3 separate regions of the Homo sapiens genome follow, and all the other regions are linked to region 2. Evidence: promoter capture Hi-C in human tissues and cell types (Jung and others, 2019). All regions are on one chromosome and are shown on one strand. The core of a region is centred on a gene start or on the middle of the fragment in contact, and the rest is flanking DNA. Distances in the headings are between cores, read along the strand shown. Region 1 holds the start of FLYWCH1 (FLYWCH-type zinc finger 1). Region 2 holds the start of NTHL1 (nth like DNA glycosylase 1). Region 3 holds the start of KCTD5 (potassium channel tetramerization domain containing 5).

What was found. Contacts are between HindIII fragments. The study calls those that stand out against the background at their distance.
Region 1: the fragment with the promoter of FLYWCH1 here is called in contact with the fragment with the promoter of NTHL1 in region 2 in 1 of the 25 tissues and cell types used here (lymphoblastoid cells).
Region 3: a contact is called between the fragment with the promoter of KCTD5 here and the fragment with the promoter of NTHL1 in region 2, in 1 of the 25 tissues and cell types used here (spleen).

What each region holds. Positions count from the first base shown.
Region 1 is chr16:2,909,886-2,914,014 of GRCh38, reverse strand. FLYWCH1 (FLYWCH-type zinc finger 1) reads right to left here and starts at 2,084. Exons shown (of 10, transcript NM_001308068.2): 1 at 1,861-2,084. RefSeq lists silencers at 1,451-1,640, 1,614-1,713, 1,744-1,893, 1,914-2,223, 2,274-2,333. The HindIII fragment of the contact is 21,473 bases long and covers 433-4,129 here.
Region 2 is chr16:2,046,035-2,050,156 of GRCh38, reverse strand. It overlaps NTHL1 (nth like DNA glycosylase 1), which reads left to right and starts at 2,323. Exons shown (of 6, transcript NM_002528.7): 1 at 2,323-2,448; 2 at 3,791-4,029. The coding sequence starts at 2,334. It overlaps TSC2 (TSC complex subunit 2), which reads right to left and starts at 2,172. Exons shown (of 42, transcript NM_000548.5): 1 at 2,092-2,172; 2 at 1,404-1,570. The coding sequence starts at 1,541. RefSeq lists a silencer at 1,909-2,138 and enhancers at 2,229-2,318, 2,769-2,828, 2,420-2,919. The HindIII fragment of the contact is 27,107 bases long and covers 1-4,122 here.
Region 3 is chr16:2,681,017-2,684,961 of GRCh38, reverse strand. KCTD5 (potassium channel tetramerization domain containing 5) reads right to left here and starts at 2,439. Exons shown (of 6, transcript NM_018992.4): 1 at 2,162-2,439. The coding sequence starts at 2,413. RefSeq lists enhancers at 1,757-1,806, 1,877-1,926, 1,471-2,081 and a silencer at 2,177-2,356. The HindIII fragment of the contact is 14,940 bases long and covers 1-3,945 here.

The DNA.
Region 1 (4,129 bases), core at 835-3,334, 860 kb before region 2:
ATGGGCCGGTGGCACGGTGGCTCACACCTGTCATCTCAGCAGTTTGGGAGGCTCAGGTGAGAGAATTGTTTGAGCCCAGGAGTTCGAGACCAGCCTAGGCAACATAGTGAGACCTGCCCCTCGCCCCCACCATTTCTACTAAAAAAATTTTTTTTTAAAGCTCCTGGATGACTCCAGTGTCTACCCACCTCCCACCTACCCGCAACTGAACCATGAGCGTTGGAGGTGCACTTGCCTCAGACATGAACCACTATGGTGACATCACAGGCTCAGTGGGTGCACACAGACATTCCTCCTGAAGAGGTTGAAGGTGGCAGAGATGCCCAGATAATTAAAATTTACTCTAAAAATGAACTTCACAATCTCAGCACCGTTGGCATTTTGGGCCGGATGATTCTGCTGTGGGAGGCTGTCCTGTTCAGCGTGGGGTGTTCAGCAGCAACCCCGGTCTCTACCTGCCAGATCCCACTGTCATGCCCTACCACACGTTGTGACCACCAACACTGCAGAACGTTCCCTGGGGTGCAGAATTGCCCAAGAGCCACAGCTCCAAAGCAACTTAGAAATTAGAGCGCACAGAAAGGGAGAGCTTGGCCAATGAGACCCCCCCAGCCCGGTATTCCCCAGTCACCCTCCATCATAATATAAGTTTATTTACTCCTTCCCACAGCCTAATGCATCCTCAAATCTCTCTCCCTCTATGCCTGATATACCCATCTTCCCTCTCCTTCCCACTCCCACCAACTCAGGACATGATCCCTTACCACGACCTCTTTAGCCCAAGCCAAAGCCTCTGAACGATCTTGCCAGCTTTGGCAAGCAGCCACTCCAATTCTCCACATAGGGTGCTGACAGGTCACTCTTCCTAAAGCTTAACTTTCAGCATGTCTCTCCCCAATTAAATCATCTCCATCTCCAGCCTTAGTGCATCATCAGCTGGGCGTCATAAACACTCCGCAATCTAGCCCCAACCTCAGCCTTGTTCCTTCCACACGTCCCGCCAGTAGCACTTGGGAAAGGAACAAGAGAAACATGATATAATCACACGAGAAAATCTAGATCAAGCCCTGGAAATCATATTGGCCCTTGGAAAGCAGAAATATGCAAATAAAAATAAGCCATTTCGTTGGAATTGGAGTTTGCACATGATTATCTGACTATGGGAGTTCAGCTTCCAGTACAAGGAATAAAGGAACAACAGGCAGGGTTTAGAGCGAGGGTTTCAACTACGTCAGACCCGTTATGTGCAGGCTCCATGGGTTAGCAGCAGCCTTTTGGAACGGGGTGGAAGAGAATGGAACGGAATTTAATCCGAACAGATCCAGCTGCGTCATGTGAGCTTAAACAAGCGTCTCCCTTTAAACTTGTGCTTCAGTCATCCAGACCCACAGGCACAGAGTACACGCGTAAAAGGCATTTCTCAGTGTCGGCTGTGGGTCAACAAAGTTCGAAAGCCGTCACCGGAGATCTATAGGGTCAGAAGCGGGAGCGGGGTGCGTCCCGACCCGCAAAAGTGCAAGGTCACTGGGACCGCCCGAGCTGCAACCGTGGGACGGGGCTGATGCTGCGGGTCCAGGAAGGCAGCGCTGGGCGGGGCAGACACCGCCAGGAAACGGCGGACGAGTGCGGGGATCCTTGATGTGGGGGTGTCGGGCTTAGGCCAGGGGACGGGGGGGTGGGGATGGAGGGGCGAGGAGCAAGGAGGGAATCGCGGGAGACCCCACAGGAGGCGGCCTGAGCGCCGGGACGCAGACCCCTCCCCAGCACCCGCAACCCTCGGGACCCCCGGGAGAGCCGGGCTGCGGGCGCGTCCACGCCGGGGACGCGGGACATTCCCCGCCCGCAGGGGCCTGTCCTCACCGACGGCAGCGGGGCCCTCCCTCTCCCGCGACAGCGCCGCGGCGGATCCTTCAGCCTCTGCCGCTGCAGCAGCGAGCGTCGACCCCGCGACCCAGGCCGCCGCCGCCACCCCGACCCGGGCACCAGCTCCCAGCCCCGACCTGCCCCTCGGGAGCGAGCCCCGTGACCGCGCGCGCGACCCCGCCGGGGAGCCGGCCTTGCGGAACGCTCAGGCGCGCTACTTCAGAGCATGCGCAGCAAGACCGCGCGGCCCGTTCCTTAGGTAAACCGCTGCTCCGGGTCTTCCCTGCGCGGCGCCGAGCCGCAGGCCTGGCCTGTCAGCGCATGGGGGCGGGGACGTAACTCACGGAAAAGGCGGGGCCATCCCGAGATTGGACGGCGGCGTCCAGGGGCGGAGCTAGGATGGGGGAGCTGAACAGGACGCTCTTGGCGTAAAGGGGCTGGGGTAGGGGGCGCTTAATTGAGACCCCAGGACGGTCCCCAGTATCTGAGGCTGCCCGCAGGAAACGGAGCGTTTGCTGAGATGCACTCTTGGGCCTGTCAGTTTCCTGACCCCGTGGGAAGGCGATTCTCATGCATCTCATTGACGCCCCCAGTGACCCTACCCCAGAGCGGAACCAGTGTGAGATTCAAATAAACAGCGATAGCAACGGATTATAACCTTGACTACGATATGAGTCCAAACTGAAGGAAATAAGTCAACGGGGGAGAAGGGACAGTTGTTTCTTACATCAGAAAGCCAACAACGACAAAAAAATACCTGGGCCGGGCGCGGTGGCTCACGCCTGTAATCCCAGCACTTTGGGAGGCCGAGGCGGGTGGATCACCTGAGGTCAGGAGTTCGAGAACAGCGTGGCCAACATGGTGAAACCCCGTTTCTACTAAAAATACGAACATTAGTCGGGCGTGGTACTGGGCGCCTGTAATCCCAGCTACTCGGGAGGCTGAGGCAGGAGAATAACTTGAACCCGGGAGGCGGAGGTTGCAGTGAGCCGAGACGGCGCCACTGCACTCCAGCCTGGGCGACAGAGTGAGACTGTGTCTAAAAAAAAAAAAGCAGAAATATTACATAGTATTACAAAGTCTGCATGACGTGTGATGTAACACATTGAATGTAGAAGCAGGTATGAGAGCCAGTAGTCTTCTTTTAAGCCCGCAACAAAGATATTTGCAAAAATGTATAACTATGTCACTCGTCTCACTAAATTTCTTTGGGAAAATATTGTACTTTTTCATAAAACTATGTTAACACAATCAGCTTACTATTTTTTGGTAAGATCTTTATTGAAATATAATTCACATACCATGCATTTCTCCCATTTAAAGTGTACAATTAAATGATATGTAGTATAGTCAGAGAGTTGTGCAAACAGCACCATAGTCAGTTTTAAAACCTTTCATCACTCCAAGAAGAAACCTTTAGCCACCACCCTCCAATTTGCTAATCACCCCAGCCCTAAGTAATATGATCTATTTTCTGTCTTTATAGATTTGCGTATTCTGCATATTTCATATAAATGAAATCATGCAACAAATATGTGGTCTCTTGTGACTGACTTCTTTCGCCTAGCCTTAGCATAGCACTTTCAAAGTTCATCCATGTTGGCCGGGTACAGTGACTCTTGCTTGTAATCCCAGCACTTTGGGAGGCTGAGACAGGAGCATCGTTTGAGCCCAGGAGTTTGAGATCAGCCTAGGCAACATAGTGAGACTCTTTCTCTACAGAAAAAAAGAAAAGAGGAACAAGAGAAAATTAGCTGGATGTGGTGATGCGCTGTAGTCCCAGCTACTCAGGAGGCTGAGGTGGAAGGATCACTTGAGCTTGGGAGCTGGAGGCTGCAGTGAGCTGCGCTCATGCCACTGCACTCCAGGCTGGGCGACAGAGCAAGACCCTGTTCAAAAATAAAATAGTAGCAGAACTTAATTACTTTTTTTTTTTCTTGAGATGGAGTCTTGCTCTGTCGCCCAGGCTGGAGTGCAGTGGCACGACCTCAGCTCACTGCAACCTCCATCTCCCGGGTTCAAGTGATTCTCCTGCCTCAGCCTCCTGAGCAGCTGGGATTGGGATTATTACAGACAGTTGCCACCACGCCCGGCTTTTTTTTTTTTTTTTTCTTTTTTGAGACGGAGTCTCGCTCTGTCGCCCAGGCTGGAGTGCAGTGGCGCCATCTCGGCTCACTGCAAGCTCCGCCTTTCGGGTTCACGCCATTCTCCTGCCTCAGCCTCCCGAGTAGCTGGGACTACAGGCGCCTGCCACTGCGCCCAGCTA
Region 2 (4,122 bases), core at 1,074-3,573:
GATGAAACCCTGTCTCTACTAAAAATACAAAAAATTTGCTGGGCGTGGTGGTGGGCGTCTATAATCCCAGCTACTCGGGAGAGTGAGGCAGGAGAATCCCTTGAACCCAGGAGGCGGAGATTGCAGTGAGCCGAGATCGCGCCCCTGCGCTCCAGCCTGGGTGACAAGAGCGAAACTCGGTCTCAAAAAAAAAAAAAAAAAAAGATTTACTGAGGGGCTTTACTGCTCCATCCCGAGGAGTTGAGAATGTGCAATTTTTTTTCACAACTGCAAATGTTGTATTGAGATAAAACATAACATGAAATACAATTTCAAACTGCACAATTTTTTTTTAGACGGAGTTTTGCTCTTCTTCCCCAGGATGGAGTGCAGTGGCGCGATCACGGCTCACTGAAACCTCCGCCTCCCGGGTTCAAGCAATTCTCGTCTCAGCCCCCCGAGTAGCTGGAATTACAGGCGCCCACCACTATGACCGGCTAATTTTTGGTATTTTTAGTAGAGACGGGGTTTCGCCATGTTGGCCAGGCTGGTCTCAAACTCCTGACCTCAGGTGATCCACCCGCCTCGGCCTCCCAAAGTGCTGGGATGACAGGCGTGAGCCACCGCACCCAGCCAGGATGGACTATATTTTATTCATCAGTTGATGAACGTTTTAGTTGTTTCTAAGTAGAAAACTTTACAAGTGCAAAAATTCAGCATTTACTCATGGGCAAAACACAATGCCAGGCATGTGTGACAAAGACACAAACACACATAAAAGATAACGACCTAGCCCATGTGCGATGGCTCATGCCTGTAATCCCAGCACTTTGGGAGGCCAAAGCGGGCAGATCACCTGAGGTCAGCAGTTCAAGACCAGCCTGGCCAAGATAGTGAAACTCCATCTCTACTAAAAATACAAAAATTAAATGGGTGTGGTGGCACGTGTCTGTAGTCCCAGCTACTCAGGAGGCTGAGGCAGGAGAACCACTTGAAACTGGGAGGCAGAGGTAGCAGCGAGCAGAGATTGTGCCACTGCACTCCAGCCTAGGCAACAGAGCAAGACTCAGTCTCAAAAAAAAAATAAAATAAAGAACCTACTTCTCCCAGGAACTCACATCTTATCATGTAACACCTGGACATATCCTTACCTGTGAAGATGATGATACTCAGGCCTCATCTATAAGATGGGCTTTCTTTCATCAACATCTGAATAGTAACTCAAGTGTGCCTGAACCAGGTCACCAAGATCCTGACTTTCGAAGTCTCCTGAGGAAGGACATGTCGGCCTCCAAGTACTGGAGACAGCATTCCTGTGTAGACAGTTGCCAGCAACCCGTCTCCCACAGAACCTGGTGCAAGACCAAACCCAGCCTTCTCTGCATTTCCCTCTAGCCTAGCAAAGACACAGGTAGCTCACTCACTCTCAGTATTTCCGCGGTGATGATAAACTCCGTCTGTTTACCCTCTGCAGACCTGGGATTTGGCCTCGGTGTTCCCAGTCCCAACAGAATCTTAAACTTCTCCTTCAAGCCTGAATCTTTGCTTGTTGGTTTGGCCATGGTGGACCAGGACGCACCAGAAAACCCCTCTGTGCAAACGAAACAGGAATGGGGACATCTGAGCAACACCTCTGCCCACCTTCCCCACTGCGGACCTCCAGCCGTCAGGACCCTGGGTCTCTGGTGGGCATAACCTTTCCTCCCACACTCCCTGGGAGAACTCAACTACAGCCCAGCTGACCAGCTCGCAAACAGGCACCTAGGAAAGCCCGGGAGACACCAGGCCTGGTCTAGAGAGCTCTCTACTCAGACGCTGCCGCCCGCCCCGCCCGACTCAGTGCACGGGTTAGGACTGCCGCCGCGAAGTCCTGGGAGCCCCGACGTTTGCCGTCTCTCCTCTACCCATGTGAAGCAGGAGCTGTCACGGAGCCGCCTGCAGCAGAGACCCGTTCGCACCCGCCATGACTTAAAACTAAGGGATGCTCGGAGCTCCGGAGTCGGGTTGCAGTGGGCGCGGGTGAGGGCCCGGGACCCGGACACTGCGGGGTCCGCCTCTCTAGGCCGCTGCCCCGTGGGGACCGCCACTTGCCCCGTGGGGACCGCCACTTACCCCGCGCCGCGCCACCGCGCTCCGGGCCGCCCCGACGCGGAGAAAGGCGCACCCCCCTGGCCCCGGGACGCCGCCGGAAGCGCGACCCGCACTTCCGGTAGCGGCATTGCGCGGAGGGCCGCCTTGGGAGCTTGCTGGGAGTTGTAGTTCTGTGCCGCCCTCTGGCGGAAAGGCCGGCGATCCTTGCATCACGTGACGGGGCCGCATGGGCCGCCGGGATGTGTAGTCCGCAGGAGTCCGGCATGACCGCCTTGAGCGCGAGGATGCTGACCCGGAGCCGGAGCCTGGGACCCGGGGCTGGGCCGCGGGGGTGTAGGGAGGAGCCCGGGCCTCTCCGGAGAAGAGAGGCTGCAGCAGGTAGCGCCGCGCCGTGGCTGGAGCGTGGGAGGAGGCGGGATAGGGGCTGCAGGCTGGAGTCCCGGGCCGCCTCCTGCGGCTCCCAGCTGCGCGGGCAGGGGCTGCAAACCCGGCAGCCGCGAACGGTTCCCACGTGCGGCCCTGCGTTCCCACCTTGCGCCTTTTTCCCAAAGATTGCGGTCCGCAGGGGCTGGGTTTCGGGCGCTCCGCTCCGCTGCCCCCTTTCGCCCCAAGCAAGAAAACGCTTCCTTTCCCACCACTCTGTCCGGGACTCTCCACTCCAGGCTCTGTGGGTCCCATCCCCGCCCTCCTGCAGTGAACTTGCTGTCCTCGGAGAGGCTGGGTGCCAAGGACACACGCAGCCAGAAGCCTGCTCCCCCAGCTCGGGGGAGGGTGCCTCTGAGGGAAAACAGGAAAGGGCATGGCACTTATTATATTTATCCTGCAGCCGTTGAGGACCTGCTGGGGGCCAAGCACTGCAGTGAGCAGTGAGGGACACGGACAGGGCCTCTGCGCTAGTCCCGCTGGGACTTCTGCAGAATTGGCCAGAGCTGGATTCCCATAGGCACCCAGGGACCCCAGGGGTAGTCCAGACTATGTCAGGAGGAACTGGTGCAGCTGGGAGCAGGCAGGTGGTGATGCCAGCCAGGGTGGCAGGAGCTTTGATGCCAGGATAGAGTTTGGAGTTTATTATGACAGTAAACGGAAGTCAATTAGGAGGTTTTGTTGTTTGTTTTGAGATCGGGTCTTGCTCTGTCACCCAGGCTGTAGTGGAGTGTTGTGATCTCAGCTCACTGCAACCTCCGCCCCCCAGGTTCAAGCAGTTCTCCTGCCTCAGCCTCCCAAGTAGCTGAGACTATAGGCCCCTGCCACCACACCCGGCTAACTTTTGTATTTTTAGTAGAGATGGGGTTTTGCCATATTGGCCAGGCTGGTCTTGAACTCCTGACCTCAAGTGATCCACCCACCTCGGCCTCCCAAAGTGCTGGGATTACAGGCTTGATCCACCGCGCCCGGCCGGCCAGGATTTTTTAAAAGGGAGTGACACAACCTGATGTGGGTGTTAGCAGACTGTCTCTGGTGCAGTATAGAAGATGTATTGGGGGCACCTTGGTACAGGCTGTTGCTAGAGTCCTCATGAGCTAACATGGACCTTGTCAGGGTCGCTGGCATAAGGAGGGCCCACATACCCCAGACTGCAGAGGGCAGAGCACCCCAAGTGTATTAGATGATGGACAGTTGTGGCATGAACGAGTGAGGGGTGAGCTAGCAGGCGGGATGGCACCCCTACCCTACCTTCACCTGTGGCCCCACCAGAGGGACTGCGTGGTGCTTTTTGCAGAAGCGAGGAAAAGCCACAGCCCCGTGAAGCGTCCGCGGAAAGCACAGAGACTGCGTGTGGCCTATGAGGGCTCGGACAGTGAGAAAGGTGAGGGGGCTGAGCCCCTCAAGGTGCCAGTCTGGGAGCCCCAGGACTGGCAGCAACAGCTGGTCAACATCCGTGCCATGAGGAACAAAAAGGATGCACCTGTGGACCATCTGGGGACTGAGCACTGCTATGACTCCAGTGCCCCCCCAAAGGTAGGCAGGGGCCCCATCTGCCCAGATGACCCCCCATCTTAGCAAGGTCCTTGTTTTCTTTCTACCCGGTGGCTTTTGGCTGGCACCCTCCCC
Region 3 (3,945 bases), core at 1,190-3,689, 630 kb before region 2:
AGTAAAGCATTTTTTTGTTTGTTTGAGACAGAGTCTTCCTCTGTCATCCAAGCTAGAGTGCAGTGGCGTGATCTTGACTCACTGCAAGCTCCACCTCCCAGGTTCAAGCGATTCTTCTGCCTCAGCCTCCAGAGTAGCTGGGACTACAGGCACGCGCCACCACACCTGGCTTATTTTTTTTTTATTTTTTTTTTTTTGTGATGGAGTCTTGCTCTTTCACCCAGGCTGGACTGCAGTGGCGCTAACTAGGCTCACTGCAAGCTCCTCCTCCCAGGCTCACGCCATTCTCCTGCCTCAGACTGCCTAGTAGCTGGGACTACAGGTGCTCGCCACCGCGCCTGGCTCATTTTTTGTATTTTTAGTAGAGACAGAGTTTCATCATGTTAGCCAGGATGGTCTCGATCTCCTGACCTCGTGATCCGCCTGCCTCGGCCTCCCAAAGTGCTGGGATTACAGACGTGAGCCACCGCGCCCACCTTTTTGTATTTTTAGTAGAGACCGGGCATCACCATATTGGCCCGGTTGGTTTTGAACGAGATCCACCTGCCTGGGCCTCCCAAAGTGTTGGGATTACAGGCATGAGCCACCGCGCCTGGCCCATAATTTTTAACAAAGTCTTAAGGAACAGTAAAGCAAAGGGATCAACCACCTTAACTGTGCTAAAGTTCATCAACTGGGAATCAAGTGCTCCAGTGCTGAATAGACAACCATTGCCTCAAAGAACCCAATGGACAAGAGCAATTTAAACTCTAATTTCATATACAAAACAGGAATGCTTGAGTAGAAAGGCAAGGGAGTGACCACTAAGCCCTGTTATTTAAAAAGAAAAACCAAACAGTAAAACATACACCCACACTTATAAAAGGAAAATCACAGCTAACAAACGCCTATTTCTATCCTGGGGATGACTGTCATTTCCTGGGAGGTCAATTCTCTGAGTAGAGGGCTTGGTCAAATGAGCAATGGAAACAGTTGGAAGTTGTGGGGAGGCACAGGAGGGTTGGCATCTCAAACCCTCATTTCCACCCACAAGGCTGCCTTAGCAGTAACTCCAGATTCTCACTTCCTGATCACGGTCATGCCATGCTGAGAATGGTCTCAGTCAGGCTTCTCAAACTTGAAGAGGGATCCGAACCTTTCTGGGAAGCCTCCTGCATGGCAAATGTTGGCTGCCAAGGCACAAAGCCAAGCGCAGTCATGTAAGCTCAACTGAAAGACCCCGCAAAGTTAGTATAAGGCTTGTGAACTGCCTTGAATAAATATAGGTAACAACTTCTTCAAACAGGCTTTTTTGTGAGTTTCAATCCTGCACAACTCCCAAGACACGGTTCCTCGGCTCCACAACTCTTGATAAATAAAGGTAGCAAAAGGTTTCTATTACCATCTACCCAACAGCATGAGCATTTCGCTTGATGAAAGACAAGCTGCAAACTAACCTGGAAATTCCTGTCCTTTTGCGAAGACAGTGGGAAAACTAAGCCAATTAGAAAGCAGATTGAAAGATTCCTTACCTGACCCTTCCTGGACATCCCTAAAGCAACCCTTAATATGAGCAAAATCCCCTTCGAAAAATCATACTATATACTACGGACGCATCTTCTAAGAGGTGCTGAGTGGGTGCTGCGTGCTGTGGATGGAAAGGATGGAGCGCCAACTCTCTAAATGCAAGTCACCAGGGAAAAAAAGGGCCGCCCATATCAACCCCCACGTCAGCGTTAATTCAAACGTCCAGAATGTGAAACAACGCCAAGGGTTCTGTTTCCAGAGCCAGCAAGTACCCTGGGACAGAGAAGAGAAGGCGTTCACACACCCTGGGCAAAAGAACCTAGTGAGAAAAAGAAAGTAGAATCACAGCAAAGTCCGGGGTCTAGGAAGCCTCCTCCACCAAAGAGCAAAGAGGGCGAGGAAGAGACACCCCCAAGGTGAATCGACTCAGGATCCTCAAAGGCAGTGGACGCCAGGGCGCCATCCTCACCCTCCCCTCCCAGGGTAGGGGATCGGGGCAAGCTGGGGAGGAGCTGGCGACAAGGGAGCGCGGGGCTCGAAGCCCGAGGAGAGTCGCCCGCTCCCGCTGAAGTCTCCTCCGCACGAAGCAGGGCGTGTGCAGGAGCCGCAGGCCGGGAAGGCCAGGACCCTCCGGGCTGGCCCGTGAGGCCCTCACCTTGTCTGAGTCCAGGTCGGGATCGGCCTGGCATAAGCGGTACAGGAAGGATTTCGGGTCCCGGCACAGGGTCTGCCGAGTGGTGAGGAAGTAGGTGCCGCCGACGTTGAGTCGGACCCACTTGGACACGCTGCCAGGGCGCTGGGCCAGGGCGCCGAGCCCAGCGCTGCAGCGGCGGCACAGGCCGCCCCCCAGCCCCGCCCCGATGCCGCCCCGGGCCGGCGACAGGAGCTCGCAGTGATTCTCCGCCATGATCCCAGCAAGCCCCGCAACAGCTCCCTTCCACCGGAAGCGTCCGGCTTTTAATAGCGTCCTCTGAGTTCTGTCCCGCCCACAGGTCCGCCCTGGTAGAGCGCCCGCCCCGGCGTCACGCGGTAGGCGGAAGTTCCGGTCCCGAAAAGCAGGAGGCTGGGCCCGCTTCCGGCGGGAGCGGAGCACGGGGTGATCTGGGCACTAACGCTGATGGGGAGCAGCGGACATCAGCCTCGACCTCCCACGAGCGGTGCACGAGCGCCTGACCCAGACCTCGACCCTAGCCTTCACCCCCACCCTGACTCCAGTTCATGAACTGGTCAAAGGAAGAGCCATGCCAGCAAACGTCTACACTGTACATGCTTTTTATTACAAGACTACGGAGCATAGGAGGAAAATTCATCATCTGGTAACTACACCTAAAGCACAAATATTTGGGGGGAAAAAAAGAACAGATTCATTAAATTATATGATTAAATCATTGACCCAATAGAAAATTTATATAATAAGGGCGGGGCCTGGTGGCTCACGCCTGTAATCCCAGCACTTTGGGAGGCCGAGGCGGGAGGATCAGGCGGTCAGGAGATCGAGACCACGCTGGCCAACATGGTGAGGCCCGGTCTCCACTGAAAATACAAAAATTAGCCTGGCGCGGTGGTGGGCGCCGGTAATCCAAGCTACTCGGGAGGCTGCGGCAGGAGAATGGCGTGAACCCGGGAGGCAGAGGTTGCAGTGAGCTGAGATCTCGCCACTGCACTCCAGCCTGGTGATAGGGCGAGAGTCTGTCTCAAAAAAAAAAAAAGAAAGTTTTTGTAATAAAGCCAGAAAAAAGTTGTAAAATATATAGTAATTATTCACATTCAAGGCTGTATATCAATACATATAACAACGTGGCCCCGAACATGAATTCAATACAAATAATTCATATATTAGAATTTAGGCCGGGCGCGGTGGCTCATGTCTGTAATCCCAACACTTTGGGAGGCCAAGGTGGGTGGATCACGAGGTCAGGAGTTCAACATCAGCCTGGCCAAGATGGTGAATCTCCGTCTCTACCAAAAATACAAAAAATTAGCCAGATGTGGTTGTGGGCGCTCGTAATCCCAGCTACTCGGAGGCTGAGGCAGAGAATTGCTTAAACCCAGGAGGCGGAGGTTGCAGTTAGCCGAGATCAGGCCACTGCACTCTAGCCTGGGCGACAGAGTGAGACTCCGTCTCAAGAAAAAAAAAGAATTTAAATAACAGGCTGAACTAGAGGCCAACAATAGCCAGCAAATAACCTTCTATAAGATTAAAAACACAAAAGTGTATATCCTAATACCATTGTATTATTTGTTTTCATGAGTTCTTTTAATTTTTGCTTTGTCTGTACATCACAGTTACAGCTACAGACCAGGTAGAGAATATTACGCATGTTCTGACTGCCACCCACCTGAAAGACGTACTAGTCATTTATCCTATTTCATGTTGTGAAGGAACAGCTACAGCAGCTCTAAATACTGTAACAATTTAATTTTGCCAACATCCAACTT